Linked DNA regions of Homo sapiens: region 1 is linked to region 2. Evidence: promoter capture Hi-C in 16 types of primary human blood cells and fetal thymus (Javierre and others, 2016). All regions are on one chromosome and are shown on one strand. Each heading gives the region's core, a stretch centred on a gene start or on the middle of the fragment in contact. The rest is flanking DNA. Distances are from core to core; before and after follow the strand shown. Region 1 has its middle 3.3 kb from the start of GID8. Region 2 holds the start of LAMA5 (laminin subunit alpha 5).

Region 1 (5,226 bases), core at 1,977-4,476, 570 kb after region 2:
GAGCCCAGGAGTTGAAGGCCAGCCTGGGAAACATAGGAACTCTTATTTCTACTTCTACCTGCCCATCAGACACGTGATCACAACAGCTGCATGCATACAAATAACTTAAGACACAGAGAGAACTATCCACATGTATGTGTGTATATTTACATATATTTTTTGTTAATTTTTATAAAAAAGAAAAGTCAGATCCCAAACCAGTAACTGTCTATCAAATCCTGACCAGCCAGGTTCAAACTACATAATCAAACTCAAATGAAATAGTACATAAACAATGCTTTGACCATGTACATTGCTACTCAAAATACTCTTTGGCCTTTCCCACTGGTCTGCAATGGCAGGACTGTATCACCTTCCCTCCTACCACATTTGTTTCAGGTAACAGTATGCTAGATACGGTTTGTCTCAACCTCAGCAGGAGTTAAAGGTTTTAAAAAAATAAAAATAAAAATCAAGAAAAGATTATTCTTGCTCTCACCCAAACAAACTTACAAAATATTCAGTGCTTTCTGATTTAGTGGTATAATCTAGAAAGGGAAATAAAATCAGGCAAAAAGAGGGAGGGGGAAGGTCACCTATATCAAACAATCACCAGTGAAGATTCTTTACAGGGTCTGGGTTCACCAGACACATGGTGTCAGAATATGTGCAGCAGGCCAGGCGCCATGGCTCATGCCTGTATTCCCAGCATTTTGGGAGGCCCAGGCAGGTGGATCACCTGAGGTCTGGAGTTCGAGACCAGCCTGACCAACATGAAGAAACCCCATCTCTACTAACAATACAAAATTAGCCGGGCGTGGTGGCGCATGTCTGTAATCCCAGTTACTCAGGAGGCTGAGGCAGGAGAATCGCTTAAACCGGTAGGCGGAGGTTGCAGTGAGCCAAGATCGTGCCATTGCACTCCAGCCTGGGCAACAAGAGTGAAATTCTGTCTCAAACAAAAAAACAACAACAAAAGAATATGTGCAGCAGACTAAATAGTAAAATTCTTCCTTACCTCTTTCCAACATCTCTAATTGTTTAAAATACTGTGAAAAGTGAAGTTCATGAAAATTGAGGTCTGAGTGTTTCCTACCTACTTCTGCTAACCATTCTAAGCATCAACAACTGATGGGTTTATCAATTATCCTGAAAAGTAAGGTGGTTTGATTTGCCCAATCTCTTTGAAAGCCTGAAGTCTCCAGTATGTAGGGGTTTGATTTTATGCTTTTGGGTTTTGAGAGTAAAACAAAACATCCATGGGAATAATGTGGTTTTGAAACATGGCTGATATCCTGGTTTTTAAACATTCTATGATTTGAGTAAAGGAAGCACTCTATGCAGTGGTTCACACCTGTAATCCCAGCACTCTGGGAGGCTGAGGCAGGAAGACTGCTTGCACGCAGAAGTTTGAGAACAGCCTGGGCAACATAGTGAGACCTCTCCTCTACAAAAAATAAACAAAATTAGCTGGGTGTGGTGGCTTCCGCCTGTAGTCCCAGCTACTCAAGAGGCTAACATGGGAGGATTAGCTGGGAGGTGTAGGTTGCAGTGAGCCATTATCACACCATTGCACTCCAGCCTGGGCAAACTGCTCTCCCCTTTTTAAAAACTCATTAATGTTCTTTTAAGATTAATATACCTTTAGCACTCCTCTTTCTGTTCATCTCTTTCAATATGAAACAACTCAAGTTCAAAGCCACCACCTCAGCTTGCAAGACACTGGAAGCTCTGAACACCTGGTTGCCCCTCAGCTGACTGTAAGGGCCAAGCCTTTGGTTTCTCTCATCCACATGCCCACCTCTGTCATAGGAAAGCTCAGGCAGTTGATGAATCCAGCAGGCTGAAGTCCTTGTCACTGTCCCAGATGCCAACCCGTGTGGCCCTGCACCCTCTCCTGTCCCGGGACCCACCTACCTCTTTCCTGCTCTCCTGCACTCTTGGTGAGCCTCCATGCTGGTGGCTTCAGGGCTCTGGCCCAGGCTCTCCTCCTCTCCCTCCACCCATCCCTTCTCCACAGAGACTTCATGCACACCTGGCTGTAGTTGCCTTTATCTCTGCCTGGATCTGGGCACCATCATTCACCTGCTCCCCTGGCATCTCCACGTGAATGCCTCAAATGCACTTCAAAACCTACCTAACACATGCAAAATGAGCTTAGGACTTCTGACCTCCCTACTACATACTTCCAGGCTCTTCTCTGGCGTTCCCTATCCAGAGGATGGTCCCACCACCCTATAAATTCATAGGCCAGAAGCTGAGAAATTATCCTTGACCCCCCTCCCTGCTCCTCAGTCTCACCTGCTGCTGCAGCGTTTTGTGGCATCTAGCTCACTGCTCACTTCTCAGTACATAAGTGCATGGCCCTAATGGCTTCTGAACACCTTCAACATACTACGCTGTCTTCACCTCACCCCTGCTCACCACACTCCAATGTTTCCCATTCCCATCACATCTCTCAACTTCTTGCTCTCTCACCAAAAACCATCAAATGGGGAGTTTTGGCACCTTCACCCTGGACTTCCCTGCCGCCTGGAAACTGCTAACATAGCTTCTCGAAACTGGACACCCTGTGGCTTCAGGGAGCGCCTTTGAAGCCCCTGGTTCTTGTCAGACCCCCCGGCCACTTTCTTGCTACCCTTCATAGGCAGCTTCTTCCTTAGTGAATACAGCTTGCAGCTCTGCATTCTGGACTTGATCCACTCCTTGTCTCCATGGGCTTCCTCTGAATACTGTACCCATCAACTCTCAACTCTAGCCCTGCTCTTCCCCTTGAGCTTTAGATGTGTCCCACAGGCACCTCCAATTGAATGAGGCCCACGGTGAACTCACCACCTTTCCCTCGTTGTTGCACCTCCTTCTTCTTCATGATCATTCTCAGTTGGTGCCACCACCTCATCAGCTGGGCTACTCACCCGCATCACTCTGGTCTTCCTTCTTAGCTCCCACAAATTGTCAGTCACCAAGGACTGCTCATTTCCATCCTGACTGAAGGTCTCTTTCCATTTTTGCTAGTATTGCTTCCAGTTAAGATCCTCATAATCATTCACTCATTTATTCCTTCGTCACTCAACAAATAAATATTTATGGAGCTCCTATTACGATTTAGCCATAATCAACTCACATGAAGCTTACCATTTTATGCTGAATCATGACATCCCATCAGACAGCAACCACACGGACCGTGTGCTAAGAGCTACGAAGAGCTAAGTTAGGATTCTGTGCAAGCATAAAGGAAAGGCACTCAATCCAGCTTTGTTAGGGAAGACTTCCCCGAGAAAGCCACGTCTCTACTGAGGAGGTGAGCAGGAGTTAGCCTAGGGAAGGCTGTTAGCTAGGGCCCAGACTGAGAGCACAGCGATAACAAAGCTTGTTGACATGAGAAAACCTCCAATCAGCTGGGATGGCTGGAGCAGAGAGTAAGATCAGGAGTGCAGACTTATAGCTGCGCTAACTTTACACAGGCAACTGGGGAGTCCCCAAGGGATGTTAGAAGGATAGAGTCAATGAGTGATGGCTTTTGGAGAGATCACCCTGTCTGCTATGTGAGAGGTAGTGACAGGACTTCTGGAGCTCAACAGGAGTTACGGAGACATCCTGGCAATCCAAAAAGCAAAGATGATGGCTTCCACGTTATGGTGGAAGAGGCTGGGAAACAACACAAAGGAGCCAGTTTCTAGAGAGGATTAAGGAGGGGGCTCGAGCAGGACTTGGTAACCGGTTGGCTGTTGGGAGGAGGAGCATTAACCTGTGACCCACAGGCAGGCACTGAGACAGCCTCTTTGGACTGGAATGTTAAGGAATGTCGCCTTAAGGCGCTAGCACTCAAGCTTTCTGCTCGTGCATCCCCTTGCACACTTTCTCCTTGACGTTCAGGCTGGGCATGGTGGCTGACGCCTGTAAACCCAGCACTCCCAGAGGCCGAGGCGGGAGGATGGCTTGAGCCCAGGAGATCGAGACCAGCCTGGGCAAGAAGGCAAGACCCCGTCTCTAAAAAACTTTAAAAAATAAAAATAGGCCGGATGCGGTGGCTCATGACTGTAATCCGAGCACCTTGGGAGGCCGAGGTGGGTGATCATTTGAGGTCAGGAGTTCGAGACCAGCCTAGCCAACATGGTGAAACCCCACCCGTACTAAAAATACAAAATAAGTAGCCGGGCGTGGTGGCGGGTGCCTGTAGTTCCAGCTACTCGGGAGGCTGAGGCAGGAGAATCACTTGAACCCAGGAGGCGGAGGTTGCAGTGAGTCGAGATCATGACAGTGCACTCCAGCCTGGGCAACAAAGTGAGACTCCTTCTCAAAAAATAGAATAAAATAAAATCAAAATAGGCCGGGAGCGGTGGCTCACGCCTGTAATCCCAGCACTTTGGGAGTCCGAGGCGGGCGGATCACGAGGTCAAGACACTGAGACCAGCCTGACCAACAAGGGGAAACCCCGTCTCTACTAAAAATACAAAAATTAGCTGGGCGTGGTGGTGCGCCCCTGTGGTCCCAGCTACTCGGGAGGCTGAGGCAGGAGAATCGCTTGAACCCGGGAGGCGGAGGTTGCAGTGAGCCGAGATGGCGCCACTGCGCTCCAGCCTGGGCGAGAGTGAGACTTCGTCTCAAAATAAATAACTAAATAAAGACCAATAACTGTTTCCCATAGGGTTATGTAGTTGCAAATGAAAAAATTACTGGCATGTACTGCCTCTGCATATGAAGCATAATTTTGTCAAGACCTTATACCTGCAGATTTAGCTCTTTCGATTAACGGAAAATGTCCAAAATCAGTCTCCTCCAACCTATTTGCCGAACTGGACTTACTGTCGCTGAGTAGACCGACCGACATAGCTTACACGTTGTTCAGCTCGCTTGTAAGCAAACACACGAAACCACCTCACCCCTGACTTCAGAAAGAAGCCGTCCCGTGAATTCCTCACAGATGAAATCAGGAGCTGCCCCTCAAGGACTCTATTTCTTCCTTCGGCTCTATCAAATATTTTAAGGTACTTCCCAGCAACGGAAACATGGGACCCTGCAATGACAGACTTCGCATTCCTCCTGAGCGGACAGGCAATAAGCAAGTAAACGCGCAAATACCCAAGTGCGGCCTCAACCCGCGCTCCTGCCGGGAGGGTCTCCAGTCACCGAGTAACCCCGGCCCTGCCCCGCGCCGCCGCCGGGACTCCGCCCCGCAAGCAAGTGGGGTCTCCTTTGTCCCGCGCGCCCTGGCCGCGTCCCGCCCTTCGGCGTAGCCCATGGGAG
Region 2 (5,384 bases), core at 2,362-4,861:
CTACCCCGCCCAGCCTCCCTTGGGGGGCCAGACCTCATCCTAGGAGGAGGAGGCAGGAGCTGGGGAGATGCCTTCTCCCCACCCCCAGGCCCAGCACCTACAGAGGGCCCAACCCCCTCGCCCAGAGTGTGCCCTCTGCCTCCACTGAGCACCAGGGCAACACCCGGTACCCCTCCCACAGGCTCCCAAGACCCCGCCCTGGTGTTTGGATTGCCCCATCTCAGACCTTGCCCCAGACCACCCAAGATGCAGCTCTGCAGCCCCCAGTGTGGCCACTGCTGTATTTCCTTTACTGCATGTATGAGACCTGGAATTATCTGGGGGCCTCCCCGGGGTCCCCCAGAGCTCTGCAGTGGCAGGGTCCACACCCTCCTTATTCCCGCTGTGTCCCCAGCTCACCACCTAAGCATTCTCGTGGATGGGGCTAGAGCAACTGAAGACACCCAGTTAAGCGCCACGACCCCTACCCGCAGGCCGCACTGCAAGCTTTGATGGTGGCCCCCAAACTCAAGAGCTCAATGACAGCACGGCGCACACAGGTCCTGCTCAGGGTGGGGCCAGGGGCTCCTGGAGAAGGTAGGTGTGGGCGGCGCCCTCTGGCTGGGACAGCCGGACCTCCCAGGGAAGGCTGCTTGCTGGTCAAGACCCTCCCAGACACACGAGCAGCAGAGGGAAGCTGGGTGGAAGGTTGCGGGTCAAGGGTCAGCCTCTACTCTTCCAGGAGGTCAGGGAAGCACCTGCTCAGTCCCTGCCTGGGCCAGCGTTGGTCCAGTTATTGGGAGGCAGTTCCAGTCCCCATTCGGCCACTCACTGAGCCACAGAGGACAGGGTTGGGAAAACCAGGCTCCCCCACCTCCGCTGCGGAGGGTCCCGTGAGAACAGAGCTAGGAAACAGCAGAAGGGCCGATAAGGACTTCCCCTTCCAATGAGTCACCATGCTGGCCTGGCTGCCCAGTCCCCACCTTCCCAGGCTGGGCCGGCCAGGGATCCCCTGATGCCCACCTGGGGCTGTGAGGGCCACAACCTCCCCCTGCCCTCTGCCTGCTCCAGCTGCCCAGCAGGGTTCACCCCGACCCCCATCTGGGATGCCCAGCTAATGTGCATCTCCTACAGAGGGTCCCTGAGAGCCCCTGGCCTGCAGCCTTGAGAACACACTGCCCAGCCCCAGGCCCCATAGCCTTAGTGAGCCCCCTCAGATGGAGCTGCGGCTTCATCGCCTGGGCACCTCCTGTGCCTGCCTGCCTTGCCCCAACCGCAGCTCCACTCCAGACCGGCCGGCAAGGACTTCTCACACGCCCAATCCGCGGCCAGGGCGGTCAGCAGACCCGCGGCTCTCAGATGAAGGAGGCATCCAAGGTCATACCCGTCCAGCTCACGTCTACCAGCTGATCTTTCTACATATCTGGCAGCCTCAGCGGGCACTCACTGCTCAGAGCTCGAGACTTTGGAAGCGAAGGGTTCACCTCTATTGCTAGACATGAGCTGGGCGAGGCCGGCTGGTTTCTCATCCAAGCTGGCTCTGAGGCATGGAGCACCACAGCCCACAGCTGCCACTGAAACTGTGGCCACTTCCCAGGCTCCTCGGGCCAAGCTCACAGTCTCAGGTGAGGGGGGCCAGCACGCTGTGCCCATTTTAAAGACAGCTTGAGGCTGACAGAGGGAAGCCACACAGCTGAGGCAGAGGAGAGGGGCGTTGACTACAGGCTGGCCCTTTACTCACGAGACGGGGGTAATAAGCCCCCACAGAGGAGACAGATCTGAGAGGGGGCCTGTGGCCCCCAGCCACGCAGCATGGGCAGGCTGTGGGGGGGTGGTCTGAGGTTCACAGGGCACCTGGAGCCTCCCCTGCCAGAACGGCAAAATCTCAGCTGGGGACACTCAGCCAGGCCCTCTGTGGTGAGGTGTGGCAGCAGGTAAGGAGACAGTCACAGGCCCTCCGTCCTGAGACCCGGCCCCTCTGAGTTGACCAGATAAGGGGGCAGCCAGGAGGCACCCAGGTTCCCACAGCTAACCCCCGCTGGACCCTGTTCTGGCTGGGGGGCTCCAAGCAGGTGTCAGCAGCTTTCCAGGGCTCAGATCCCCCATCTGAAGTGTGGGCTTGAGACCTCCTATCTCAGAGGACTGTGCTGGGCTTAAGGAGAGAACGGTGAGCCCAGAAGCCTGGGGAGGCTCCTTCCCCCTCCACCAGGGCCAAGGGGGTGGGGCAGGCAGAGGGGGCGGGCCCAGCCCAGGCTCCTCCATTCATCCCCATAACGTCTTGCTCCAGGGCCCTCTGCCCCCACCCAGCAAATCTCCAGCTACTCGCCCCTGCCCCAGCCTCTCCTTCCGGGAAGGCAGAGGTACCAGGGAGGAGACAGCTCAGGTTACACAGGCCCTCAGGGCCCCTAGACTCTCCCTAAGGTGGGGCTGAGGTGGGGAATGGGCCTAGAGCGGCCGGTTGGGAGCCGTTGGAGCTGACTTTGCTGCTCCTCACCCAAGGCTGACCCCAGGCCCAACCTAAGTCTACAGGGCCCCAAGAGCCTTGGTTTTCAGGTGAGGTGTCCATGCATGGAGTCCACCAACAGAACCCGCCTACAGGTTTAAGGCTTGTTGGGGAGGGGACATGCACCCCAGGGGGTCTTCAGGGCCTGAACCCACATCTCCCAGGGAGACTGAAGCCCCCGGACCCTACCACCTGCTGGGCAGAGATGCTGCCCCTCCTGGGAGCCACGTGTTCCCAGCCCCAGTCAAAACTTCGCAGCTGGCCCTCCCCTACTTTGGAGGTCTCCTCGAGTCCCTAGACTCCTCCGAGAGGGGCTAGTGGGAGCCTCAGGTGGCTGGCCCCTCCCACCCCATCCAGAGGCCAACAGGTTCCAGCCTGTCCCGGGTAGGGCGGAGCTGCGCCCCCTCCCCACCGGCAGCAGGCGGCGGAGGCCAAGTCCCGCCCTCCCCGGGATCCCGGACTTGGGGCCGCCAGGGACTGGGCCCGGCCCCCCTCCCGCCCCGGTCACCGCAGTCGAACTGGACCGGCGCCCAGCCGCCCCCGGGTCCATGCCGGGGACTTTAATTCCGCCTTCCCGGAGGGACGCGAAGTTTCCCGGCCGAGACGGAGCGGCCGGGTCGGGGTGCCTTCTTGGGCCCCCAAAATGCGGAACCAGAGAGTCCGCACCTGGACTCGCCCCGGGCCACGGCGCTCCCCCTGGGGTCGGGCCGGTGTTCCGGGTCCGAGTGCCCCGGGAGGAAGCCCCACGGCCCGCCCCTGCGCTCACCCGGATGGTCTGGTTGGGGTCGCCGCCGGCCACGGGGCCCCCTACCAGCTTGCAGTAAAGGTCCTCGGTGGGGCGCGGGGAGCCGCGCGCCGGGGCCTCCTCTCCGCAGGTCGCGGAGGCGGCGATGCGGGCGCCCTCGGCCAGGTTGAAGTAGGGCGGGTGCAGGCTGAAGCCGCCGCCCGCCTCCTCCCGCGCCCGCGCCGCGCCCAGCAGCGCCAGCCCGACCAGCAGCAGCGGCGCGGGGCCCCGGGGGCCGCGAACACACAGTGCGCTCCCCGCGCAGAGCCGCTTCGCCATCTTCCCGGCTCCGGGCCGCGTCCCCGAGCTCCAGGGACAGCGCGCGCGGCGGGAGCCCGGCGGGTCTGAAGCCAGGCGGCCGGCAGGGCTCGCTCCGCCCGCGGACGTCAGGCCCCGCCCCGGCCCGCCCGAGCGCCCGAGCCCCGAGCCCCGGGGAGAGGTCCGGGGAGGCGGGGTGGGGGGGGGAAGGAGAGAGGAGGGGGAGGGGCGGCCGGGCGGCCTTAACCCTTCGGACCCCGGCCCGGCCGCCTCCCGGAAGGGGCACCTGCTGGCCTCGGGCCAGGCCGTGGGACGACGGCGCCGCCGGGCCCCCAGCCCAGGTCGTAGCTCCGGGTCCCGGGTGGGACCCTAGCGCTCCCCACGACGCCCTGGCCCCCAGAGCGCCCACCAGCTCCTCCCAGCCCAGGGGCCCACTCTTTGTTCCCCTAACTTGGGTGCACCACTCGGCTGCCCCCGCTCCTCCCCCAACAGCGTCCGTCCTGCTGGCTGCGGGAAGGTGCCCTCTGCACCCGCGAATGACCATCTGCAGAGGAACGGGGCAGCCTAGGTGGGAACCCCCTGCTTCCTGGGGCAGCCAGGTCAGGTTCAACTCGGCCTGGCTCCCGCCTGCCCCAGCAGGGCTTAAAAATACTCTCAGATAGGGAAATAGGGGCAGGAGGGACTGGCCTGCAGCTGCAGCCCCCTTTAGAGGACGGGGGCGGTGCTCATGGCCCCACAGCCGCCAAATTGGCTCTTAAGGAGGTCGGGGGCTCTGGTCACAGCTGCTGAGCACCTGCTGGGTGCCTGGAAGCACCTGTGCTCCGGGGCCCGGTGGACTCCACCAGCTCTCTCGGCCTGGCCTCCAACCCGCTGCACAGCCGCGCACGCGTTCCTGCCACGATCGGCGGCTCGAGGACGCCTGGCAAACAGCACAGGACCTAGAGGCCGAGATCAGGTCTTCGTCTGCCTTTGGGTGGCTGCGGCCCTGGGTCTCCTACTTCCCTTGGGCTCCGGGGCCAAATCTGCCTCCAGGGAAGCCCCGAGGGGGTGGCGGCGGGGTGGGGCTGCAGCTGCCGAGCTGGCAGCAAACCCCCATCCCTGAGCCAGGCCAGCTGGGCGGGCCATGGTCCCAGATGGGCTGTGGGGCTCATCTCTCGCTGGGTTCCCTGGACAGTCCCGGGGGGCTGGGTGGGTTTGTGGGGCACTGGCCAGCCGGTTCTGGTGGGGGTTCTGAGCTAGCAGCTGTCCCTGGAGGGTGCACCTCCTTGCACACCTTCCTGGCGCCCTGGCCTCCTGCAAATCTCAAATCCCAAGAGGGTGTATGGCCCTTTCTCTACGGAGTCGGGAGGGCGATGGGACCCTCTCTCCCTCCTCCTACTTTCCGGCCCGGCAATTCTTCCATAACTTCACTATTAGTTCTCCCACCTGGGGGAGGGGGGAGAGGAGGCGGCTCCCCTTGGCAGGAGAAGCTCCAAGTGGGGGAGGGGCTGGCTGGAGAGGGGGCGGAGACATCAAGGAATCTGCAGTCCAGGCGCAGAGTCCGGCTCTGAGCTGCTTTAGATCCCGTGTGAGGCAGAGAGTGGCCTCTGGGCAGTAGCGGGTCCCCAGGTGGGGGCTTGGCCCCAGGCAGTGTGCTCTGGCTCTGGGCTCCCCCTTGACAGCTTGGGGCTCTGACAGCCTGGGGGACTGGAGGTGGAGACTCCTGAGACCCTGAGGGCTTCTTGGGATCCCTGGAGGGTCGGGTGGTTGGAGGGGTGGGATTGCGAGTGGCGGGGCAGGGGGAGAGGTGGGGGTGGGGAGAGCACTTTAAGCCTCCTAGCGGCCAGATCAGGCCAAGCTGCCAGGCCTCCGCTGTCCCCC

The links. The method cuts DNA at HindIII sites, captures the fragments that hold promoters and counts their contacts. A CHiCAGO score of 5 or more calls a contact.
Region 1: a fragment that was not itself captured here is called in contact with the fragment with the promoter of LAMA5 in region 2 in 2 of 17 cell types (total B cells and megakaryocytes); the score reaches 6.0 in total B cells.

The regions. Positions count from the first base shown.
Region 1 is chr20:62,932,277-62,937,502 of GRCh38, forward strand. It overlaps a transcript of DIDO1 not described here. Among named protein-coding and RNA genes, the nearest start is that of GID8, 3.3 kb to the right of the region's middle. RefSeq lists a silencer at 5,072-5,121. The HindIII fragment of the contact is 239 bases long and covers 3,108-3,346 here.
Region 2 is chr20:62,363,701-62,369,084 of GRCh38, forward strand. It overlaps LAMA5 (laminin subunit alpha 5), which reads right to left and starts at 3,612. Exons shown (of 80, transcript NM_005560.6): 1 at 3,249-3,612. The coding sequence starts at 3,545. RefSeq lists enhancers at 319-1,018, 1,019-1,718, 2,417-3,116, 5,215-5,384 and silencers at 673-967, 3,296-3,735. The HindIII fragment of the contact is 18,996 bases long and covers 485-5,384 here.